Linked DNA regions of Homo sapiens: all the other regions are linked to region 1. Evidence: promoter capture Hi-C in 16 types of primary human blood cells and fetal thymus (Javierre and others, 2016). All regions are on one chromosome and are shown on one strand. Each heading gives the region's core, a stretch centred on a gene start or on the middle of the fragment in contact. The rest is flanking DNA. Distances are from core to core; before and after follow the strand shown.

Region 1 (2,574 bases), core at 1-2,500:
GCACTGTCTCTTTCAGGCAGCACGTTTACCTGCGGGGTGTCATTGGGACACATGCTGCTTAGCTCCTTCTGCAGACGGTTAGGGAAGCCACTGAGCATCGTGCTGCCCCCGCAGAGCAGGATGTTCCCCATGAGGTCCCGTTTGAGGGCGATGTCACACTTGTTAAGGCAGGACACGGTTTGGGTGTGGAGGCCCAGCTGCATGGACTTGATGAGAGATGGCTTGAAGAACATCTCCGAGCAGAGGAACCGTTCCTGGCACAGCTGAATCTCCTTCCCATCCGGCAGCACGTAGCGGATCGTATGCTCACTGAGAGGGACTTTCTTCTCCTCAATGGGATCCAGGGCCACAAAGCAGCATTTCTTCTTGATGTCCTCCACGATGCCCATCTGGTCCTGGGTGAATTCGTTCCCCGCACTGTTCAGCAGGCCCAGCAGGTAGGCTGTCAGGTCAGAGCCCGCGTAGTCCAGCCTTCCGGTGATGCTGGGCAAAGGATAACCCTCGTAGATGGGGACCACGTAGGACACGCCATGGCCCACCTCCACCACCAGGCCGGAGGTCCTTCCATAGGAGTACATGGACAGGCGCGACTGGTAGGCGATGTGCATTGCAGGGGTGTTGAAGGCTTCAAACAGCATTTCAGCATATTTCTCTCTGTTGGTGTGTGGGCTCAGTGGCGGGTCTGAAACCAAGACCGCATGCTCCTCCGGGGCGATCTTCATCTCTTGTCGGAAGAGATATTCCCAGATATCCTGCACTGTATCCCAGTCCACGATGATGCCATGTCGCAGAGGGTTAACCAGCTTGAGATGAACGTTTGTGTTGTTGAGTTCCTGCCCCACGAATGTCTCCTTGCGATTATCCCCAGTCTTGGCGGTCTCCATGTAGGGCTTGCCCACCGTTGTTGAGATCTTGTGGGTGGGTCTTGGCAGGCCGGCAAAGCCACATTTACAGTAGCCAGTGCCCAGGTCCACGACCACTGCTTTGGTCACCTCCTGCTTGGGCCTCTCCTTGGCTGCCTTTGATTCAGTAGGTTCTTGTGGCTCTGAACTCGTATGGCGGACCCACACGGCCCGCTTCGCCGGGCCATCCCTTAAAGAGGCAGTCTGGAGGGCCTGTGTCTGCAGGGGGGCCTGGTTGCCCACCTTCTTGGTGGGCCCATCCCCCATGATTGCTGCTGGTGGAGCCCACATGTTGTCAAGAGCCGCACCACTCTTAGAAAGTTCTCAATCCCACTGGATTCAAGGCCTGAAAGGCCTACATCAGAGGATACCCTGAGAATTTTCCCAACAGTGACATCACTAATTATGATGTAATCTGGTGACCTGGGCTTTCTAGATATTGCAAACCCTTATCCTGTGTTAGGGTACATTTGGGATATTGTTTTTGAAATGGCTCCCCTTTTCCTAAATTTCGTAACAAGACTGATTTATTCAATTAATTAATATTTCTTGAATGTCTGCTATATACAAGGCAGCTGGGAATTCGCTGGTGAAAAAAACAGACAAAATCCCTTATTCTAGTCGGTGGCGGGTGGGGGTGACAGACAATAACCAAAATGAGCGTTAAGAGCAAAAGCAGGGTGGCAGTGCTAGTGTGGCCTGGGCAGGGCTTCCTGAGAGGGTGACATTTGAATGAAGACCTGCAGGAGGTGAGGGAGAGAGCCATGTGTATGTCAGGGGAGCAGCAGGTGCAGAGGACTGGAGGCAGATGTGTGACTGAAGAGTTAGATCAGGGGTCAGCAGGCTGCAGTCCAATCCGGTCCCCGGCTTGTTGGATAGGAATACAGCCGTGCTCATTCATGTACGTATTGTCCGTGACTGCCATTGCAGTACAACAGTAGAGCTGAGTCACAGCATTGAAGACTGCATTGCCCAAAAAGCTGAAAGAAAGTAAATACTGACTGACCCTTAAAAAGTTTGCCGACCTCTCGAGTTAAAGGAGGAGCAGGAAGAAAAGTGTGGCTGGCATAGAAGGAGTAAGGAAAAGTAGATGAGATGGGGTGGGGGAAGGCAAGCAGCTCATGGTAGGCCTCATAGGCCAATGCAAGGATCGTGGGTAAGGTCAGAAAGCACTAGAGGATTTGGCACAGAGCACTGACACCATCTGATTTAGATGTTAGTGGGAATCCTTTGCTGCTATGGTGACTAAGGGCACTAAGGGTGACCCTTAGAACAACCTTAAGGGGAATTATTTTTGGATATACATGTGTACACTTACTGTGCCTTCATCAGGGTCATTGGCTAGACAGTGAAATTAGACTCTACAAAATCCCACTGACAACACTGAGGCTTTTAGGTGCATAGCTCACCCAAGGATATCCAACCAGGAGTAGCCAAGCTCTCCTGACTGTGGCTTCCTCCCCAGGATGTGCTGGGACACAGCTTGATGGGACCTAGCGTGCAACTCTTAGGCTGTTTGGCCACCATCTTGCATGCCATTTCTGAAGCTGGACACATTGGTGTGGATGCCTGCCACACTCAGGGCAGAATCCAACCTTATGTTATGCCACACCCTGAACCTGATCCCAGCCCTTCATAAAAGAGGCAGTCACCACAATAATGGGCTTTCTCC
Region 2 (2,574 bases), core at 42-2,541, 1.4 Mb after region 1:
ACTCATTCTACCTGGATATACCAGAGGATTTTGTGGGAATAAAAGGATGACTGTTTTTTCACTTGAATAATTAGGTATTTATTTATTTATTTATTTATTCATTTATTTTTGAGATGGCGTTTCACTCTTGTCACCCAGGCTGGAGTGCAATGGTGCAATCTCGGCTCACTGCAAACTCTGCCTCCTGGGTTCAAGCAATTCTCCTGCCTCAGCCTCCTAAGTAGCTGGGATTTCAGGCGCCCGCCACCATGCCTGGCTAATTTTGTATTTTTAGTAGAGATGGGGTTTCTCCATGCTGGTCAGACTGGTCTCAAACTCCTGACCTCAGGTGATCCTCCTGCCTCGGCCTCCCAAAGTGCTAGGATTACAGGAGTGAGCTACCGTGCCCAGCTAGGTATTTATTTTAATGTATATTAGAAAAAAGCAGCAAGCAAACCCATGATGTGCTATGTGGGTTTTTTTGTTTGTTTTTGTTTTTTTTTTTGAGACGATGTTTTGCTCTTGTCGCCCAGGCTGGAGTGCAGTGGCGTGATCTCGGCTCACAGCAACCTCCGCCTCCTGGGTTCAAGCAATTCTCCTGCCTCAGACTCCTGAGGATTACAGATGCCCGCCACCACACCTGGCTTTAGTAGAGATGGGGTTTCTCCATGTTGGTTAGGCTGGTCTTGAACTCCTGACCTCAGGTGATCCATCACCTCGGCCTCCCAAAGTGTCGGGATTACAGGAGTGAGCCACCACACCCAACCTACTATGTCTTTTTTATTTAATTATATTTAAATTTTAAATATAGTCCAATACGAATATTACATAAATATCGTATAGGTGGCAATCTTATGGAGTGAAAATCATGAAGGTGGATGTGTAGACATGAAGTCTATCTTCACTTAAGCTCTTTCCCTAGGTTAATGTCCTTCTCCCTGCCTGACCTCTGTGTATCCTCACTCACTGTACCCCATGCCTGGCTAATGGCCACTCATCCTTGAGCTGAGTAGCTCAGGCTTTCATTCCTCTAGAAGCTTCTCTTACCAATACCCAGCACTCCTACCCCAGGCTGGGTCAGGTGTCTCCTCTGCGAATCGTTGGAGGAAGGACACATAGCTAAGTTAATTCAGAAATAAGACTGCCTACTATAAAGCCATACTGAGTGGAGGCTCTGAAGAGCTACAGTTGTTGAACTTGCAAGACATGGAGCACTGCTTTCTTTCTTTTCTTTTTTTTTCAGATGGAGTCTAGCTCCGTCGTCTAGGCTGGAGTGCAGTGGCGTGATCTCAGCTTACTGCAACCTCCGCCTCCCGGGTTCAAGTGATTCTCCTGCCTCAGCCTCCTGAGTAGCTGGGATTACAGGCACCCACCACTACACCTGGCTAATTTATTGTATTTTCAGTAGAGACAGGGTTTCATCATGTTGGCCGGGCTAGTCTTGAACTCTTGACGTTGTGATTCACCCACCTCAGCCTCCCAAAGTGCTGGGATTACAGGCATGAGCCACCGCGCCCGGCCGGAGCACTGCTTTTCTACTGTGAAGTTTTTATTTCCCATTCAGCTCAGCCTGAGAAACAAGCTTCTGACCCCAGTCTTAGTAACAAGCCAGGGCATGAGAGCAATGCAACTTCATCCCTGGACAGAAACTAAGCACCATGTAGTTTCCTATACCAACCCGTCACTATGTGCCAGGAAGTCTCTGACTTTGGGACTGGAAGACGTGGAGCTGTTTGAGTTTGGCCAAAATAGTTTCCCTCTCTGAGCTTCGGTTTCCCTATTTGTAAAATGAAAGGAATGAGCCCTACTCACCTCCTAAGGTGGCCGTGAGTTTTGAGCTGAGTGAATGGACGTGGAAGCACTTTGGAAATCATGAAGCACTTTTGAGTGAATGGAAGGGGTTGTTGTTTTTAAGCACTTAAATGAGAACAGCCTGATACTGTGGGGTTTTCAGTGCGATGCTGTGTAACCAGAATAACCGGAGTGCGTGTTTGTGCATCTTTACCCACATGCATACACACACCCTGACTACAGAATGTGGCTTTAGGCCTCTTTTGAGATGCTGCGAGGTACAGCACACACAGGCAGCTCACGGAGGATATTAGGGCTTTGGGGTTTCGAAGGGCAAAGCCTGAGAGGAGAGATGTATGATCAAAATCAAGAAACAATTTCTTTCCTTCAGACATTCAACAGCTCCTGCTTGAGCAGCACCACTGTGCCAGGCTCTGGCAACGTTGGAGATAAAGGATGTGTCTCTGTTCTCAAAAGGATCGATTCCAGCAGGGAGAACCTACATGTGAATAAGTCACTCCATGCAAGGTGTATCTGGGATTACAGGTGTGCGCCAGCACTCAGCAACACACGGTGCTGCAGAAACCCTAAGATTTAACTCCAACTTCTGGAGAAGAGCTCACTGCAAGACAGATGAGAAAGAGGTTGTTTTAAGATGAAGAAAAGGAATGATACTTGATTCATCATCTTATACATGATTCACAAGAAAAATATAATGTCTTTATTTTTCAGAGGGTTTTTTAAAATTAAGAGATGGGATCTTGCTACGTTGCCCAGGCTGTAGTGCTGTGGCTATTCACAGGC
Region 3 (2,574 bases), core at 38-2,537, 1.4 Mb after region 1:
GAAAGGAGATTTTTTTTTTTTTGAGACAGAGTCTTGCTCAGTTGCCCAGGCTGGAGTGCAGTGGTGCCATCTCAGCTCACTGCAAGTTCCACCTCCCCGGTTCACGCCATTCTCCTGCCTCAGCCTCCCAAGTATCTGGGACTACAGGCACCTGCCACCATGCCTGGCTAATTTTTTTTGTATTTTTAGTAGAGACGGGGTTTCACCGTGTTAGCCTGGATGGTCTCGATTTCCTGACCTCGTGATCCACCTGCCTCAGCCTCCCAAAGTGCTGGGATTACAGGCATGAGCCACTGCACCCAGCAGGGAAAGGAGATATTTTATCCTTTTTTTGGATGACCCATTGGGCCTCCTTTCAAGAAAAAAGGTATGTGTACCATGGACATATGACAAATAATGAAGGCTAAAAAAAAAAAGAAAAAAATTGCACTTTAAAAGCTTAGGCCAGGCACGGTGGCTCACGCCTGTAATCCCAGCACTTTGGGAGGCCGAGGCAGGTGAATCACTTGAGGTCAGGAGTTCAAGACCAGGCTGACCAACATGGTGAAACCCCATCTCTACTAAAAATACAAAAATCACCTGGGCGTGGTGGTGGGCACCTGTAATCCCAGCTACTCAGGAGGCTGAGTCAGGAGACTCGCTTGAAACCGGGAGGCGGAGGTTGCAGTGAGCCAAGATCGTGCCACTGCACTGCAGCCTGGGCAACAGAGCGAGACTCCATCTCAAAAAAATAATAATAAAATAAAATAAAAGCTAAAAGAGGGTACTTTCCTGACCTCATGATCCACCCGCCTCGGCCTCCCAAAGTGCTGCGATTATAGGCGTGAGCCACCATACCAGCTAAAAGAGGGTACTTTCTACTCTAGGATATTGAGTGGGCCAGTCTGCCCAAACAGGAAGGTTTAGCTTTGGGTGCTGTGAAACCCTCCCATTTGGTTTGCTCCAATTCAAGCTTGAGACTCTTCTAGTTTGCCTGGATGACAGTAGTTTTCTGACCTCTGAATACATCTAAATAAACTCACTCTGACAGTGCGCGGAATTGACCATTGCCCTGCCTTTGAGGCACTGTTACCGCCTCACCTAGGAATGGGTAACATTGCAAGGACTGAAGCTGTAAAATTACGTAGGTAGCTCACAACTATAATGCCAATACTTTGGGAGGCAGAGGTGGGAGGATCACTTGAAACCAGGAGTTCAAAACCATCCTGGTCAATATAGGGAGACTCTGTCTCTCCAAAAAATAAAAAATAAAATAAAAAAATAACAAAATTAGCCAGGAGTGGTGGCATGTTCCTGTGGTTCTGGCTCCTCAAGAGGCTGAGGTGGGAAGATCCCTTGAGCCCAGGAGGCTGAGGCTGCAGTGAGCTATGATTGTTTTACTGCACTCCAACCTGGGTGACAGAGCAAGACCCTGTCTCAAAAATAAAATAAAATTACGTAAGACGTTTGAAAAGGAAAGCATCTTCAAGACCATTTAACTCAAGGAAAAGACCCAGATAAAGGACTTGTGACCTTGCCCAAGGTCACATCAAGTTGACATCTGAGGAACCAGCACCTAGATCTGATTTACTTAACAGGCCAATCATCCATGGCTTCATCCTAACAGCCCAAGGGAAGCTTAGAGGAATCAAGATGATCAAAAACATCTTGCTGGCTGGGTGTGGTGGCTCATGCCTGTAAGCCCAACACTTTGGGAGGCCAAGGTGGGTGGATCACTTCAGATCAGGAGTTCCAGACCGGCGTGGCCAACATGGCGAAGCCCTATCTCTATTGAAAATACAAAAATTAGCCGGGCATGGTGTCGTGCACCAGTAATCCCAGCTACTTAGGAGGCTGAGGCAAGATAATTGCTTGAACCTGGGAGGCAGAGGTTGCAGTGAGCTGAGATCATGCCACTGCACTCCAGCCTGGGTGACAGAGTGAGACTGTCTCAAAAACAAAACAAAACCAACCAACCAACCAAACAAAAAACACCATGCTCACCTCGGCAGCACATATCCTAAAATTGGAAAAATACAGAGATTAGCATGGCCCCTGCGCAAGGATGACATGCAAATTCGTGAAGTGTTCCATATTTTTCTGTTCTTGCACAGGCTCTTAAGCAACATGGAAATAAGGTTGATGGAAAATAAACATCAGTTTCTAAACAAACAAACAAAGAAACAACAACAAAACAAAAAACACCATGCAGAAAAGATGGCTTTCAGAGGAAAGTTCTGTTTTTTTGTTTTTTTTCCTTTTTTTGAGATGGGGGATGAGGTCTCACCCTGTCACCCAGGCTGAGTGGTGCAATCACAGCACACTGCAGCCTCAACCGCCTGGGCTCAAGAGATTCTCCCTCTCAGCCCCCCAAGTAGCTGAGACCACAGACATGCACCACCATACCTGGCTAATTTTTTTAAAAAATTATTTTGTAGAGACAAGGGTATCCCTATGTTGCCCAGGCTGGTCTCTAACTCCTGGGCTTAAGGGCCTCGACCTCTCAAAGTGCTAGGATTACAGGCATGAGCCACAGTGCCTGGCCCTGGAAAGTTCTAAATTCAATGTAATGTTGTGCTCTAACATCCAAAAAAG

What was found. The method cuts DNA at HindIII sites, captures the fragments that hold promoters and counts their contacts. A CHiCAGO score of 5 or more calls a contact.
Region 2: a fragment that was not itself captured here is called in contact with the fragment with the promoter of ACTL7A in region 1 in 4 of 17 cell types (monocytes, M1 macrophages, M0 macrophages and 1 more); the score reaches 8.5 in monocytes.
Region 3: a fragment that was not itself captured here is called in contact with the fragment with the promoter of ACTL7A in region 1 in 4 of 17 cell types (M0 macrophages, naive B cells, M1 macrophages and 1 more); the score reaches 10.3 in M0 macrophages.

What each region holds. Positions count from the first base shown.
Region 1 is chr9:108,860,942-108,863,515 of GRCh38, reverse strand. It overlaps ACTL7A (actin like 7A), which reads right to left and starts at 1,250. Exons shown (of 1, transcript NM_006687.4): 1 at 1-1,250. The coding sequence starts at 1,193. The HindIII fragment of the contact is 6,848 bases long and covers 1-2,574 here.
Region 2 is chr9:107,443,980-107,446,553 of GRCh38, reverse strand. It overlaps LINC01509 (long intergenic non-protein coding RNA 1509), which reads left to right. Exons shown (of 8, transcript NR_121581.1): 4 at 1-74. Among named protein-coding and RNA genes, the nearest start is that of LINC01509, 21 kb to the left of the region's middle. The HindIII fragment of the contact is 545 bases long and covers 1,019-1,563 here.
Region 3 is chr9:107,474,541-107,477,114 of GRCh38, reverse strand. It overlaps the pseudogene RNU6-492P. Among named protein-coding and RNA genes, the nearest start is that of LINC01509, 9.2 kb to the right of the region's middle. The HindIII fragment of the contact is 665 bases long and covers 955-1,619 here.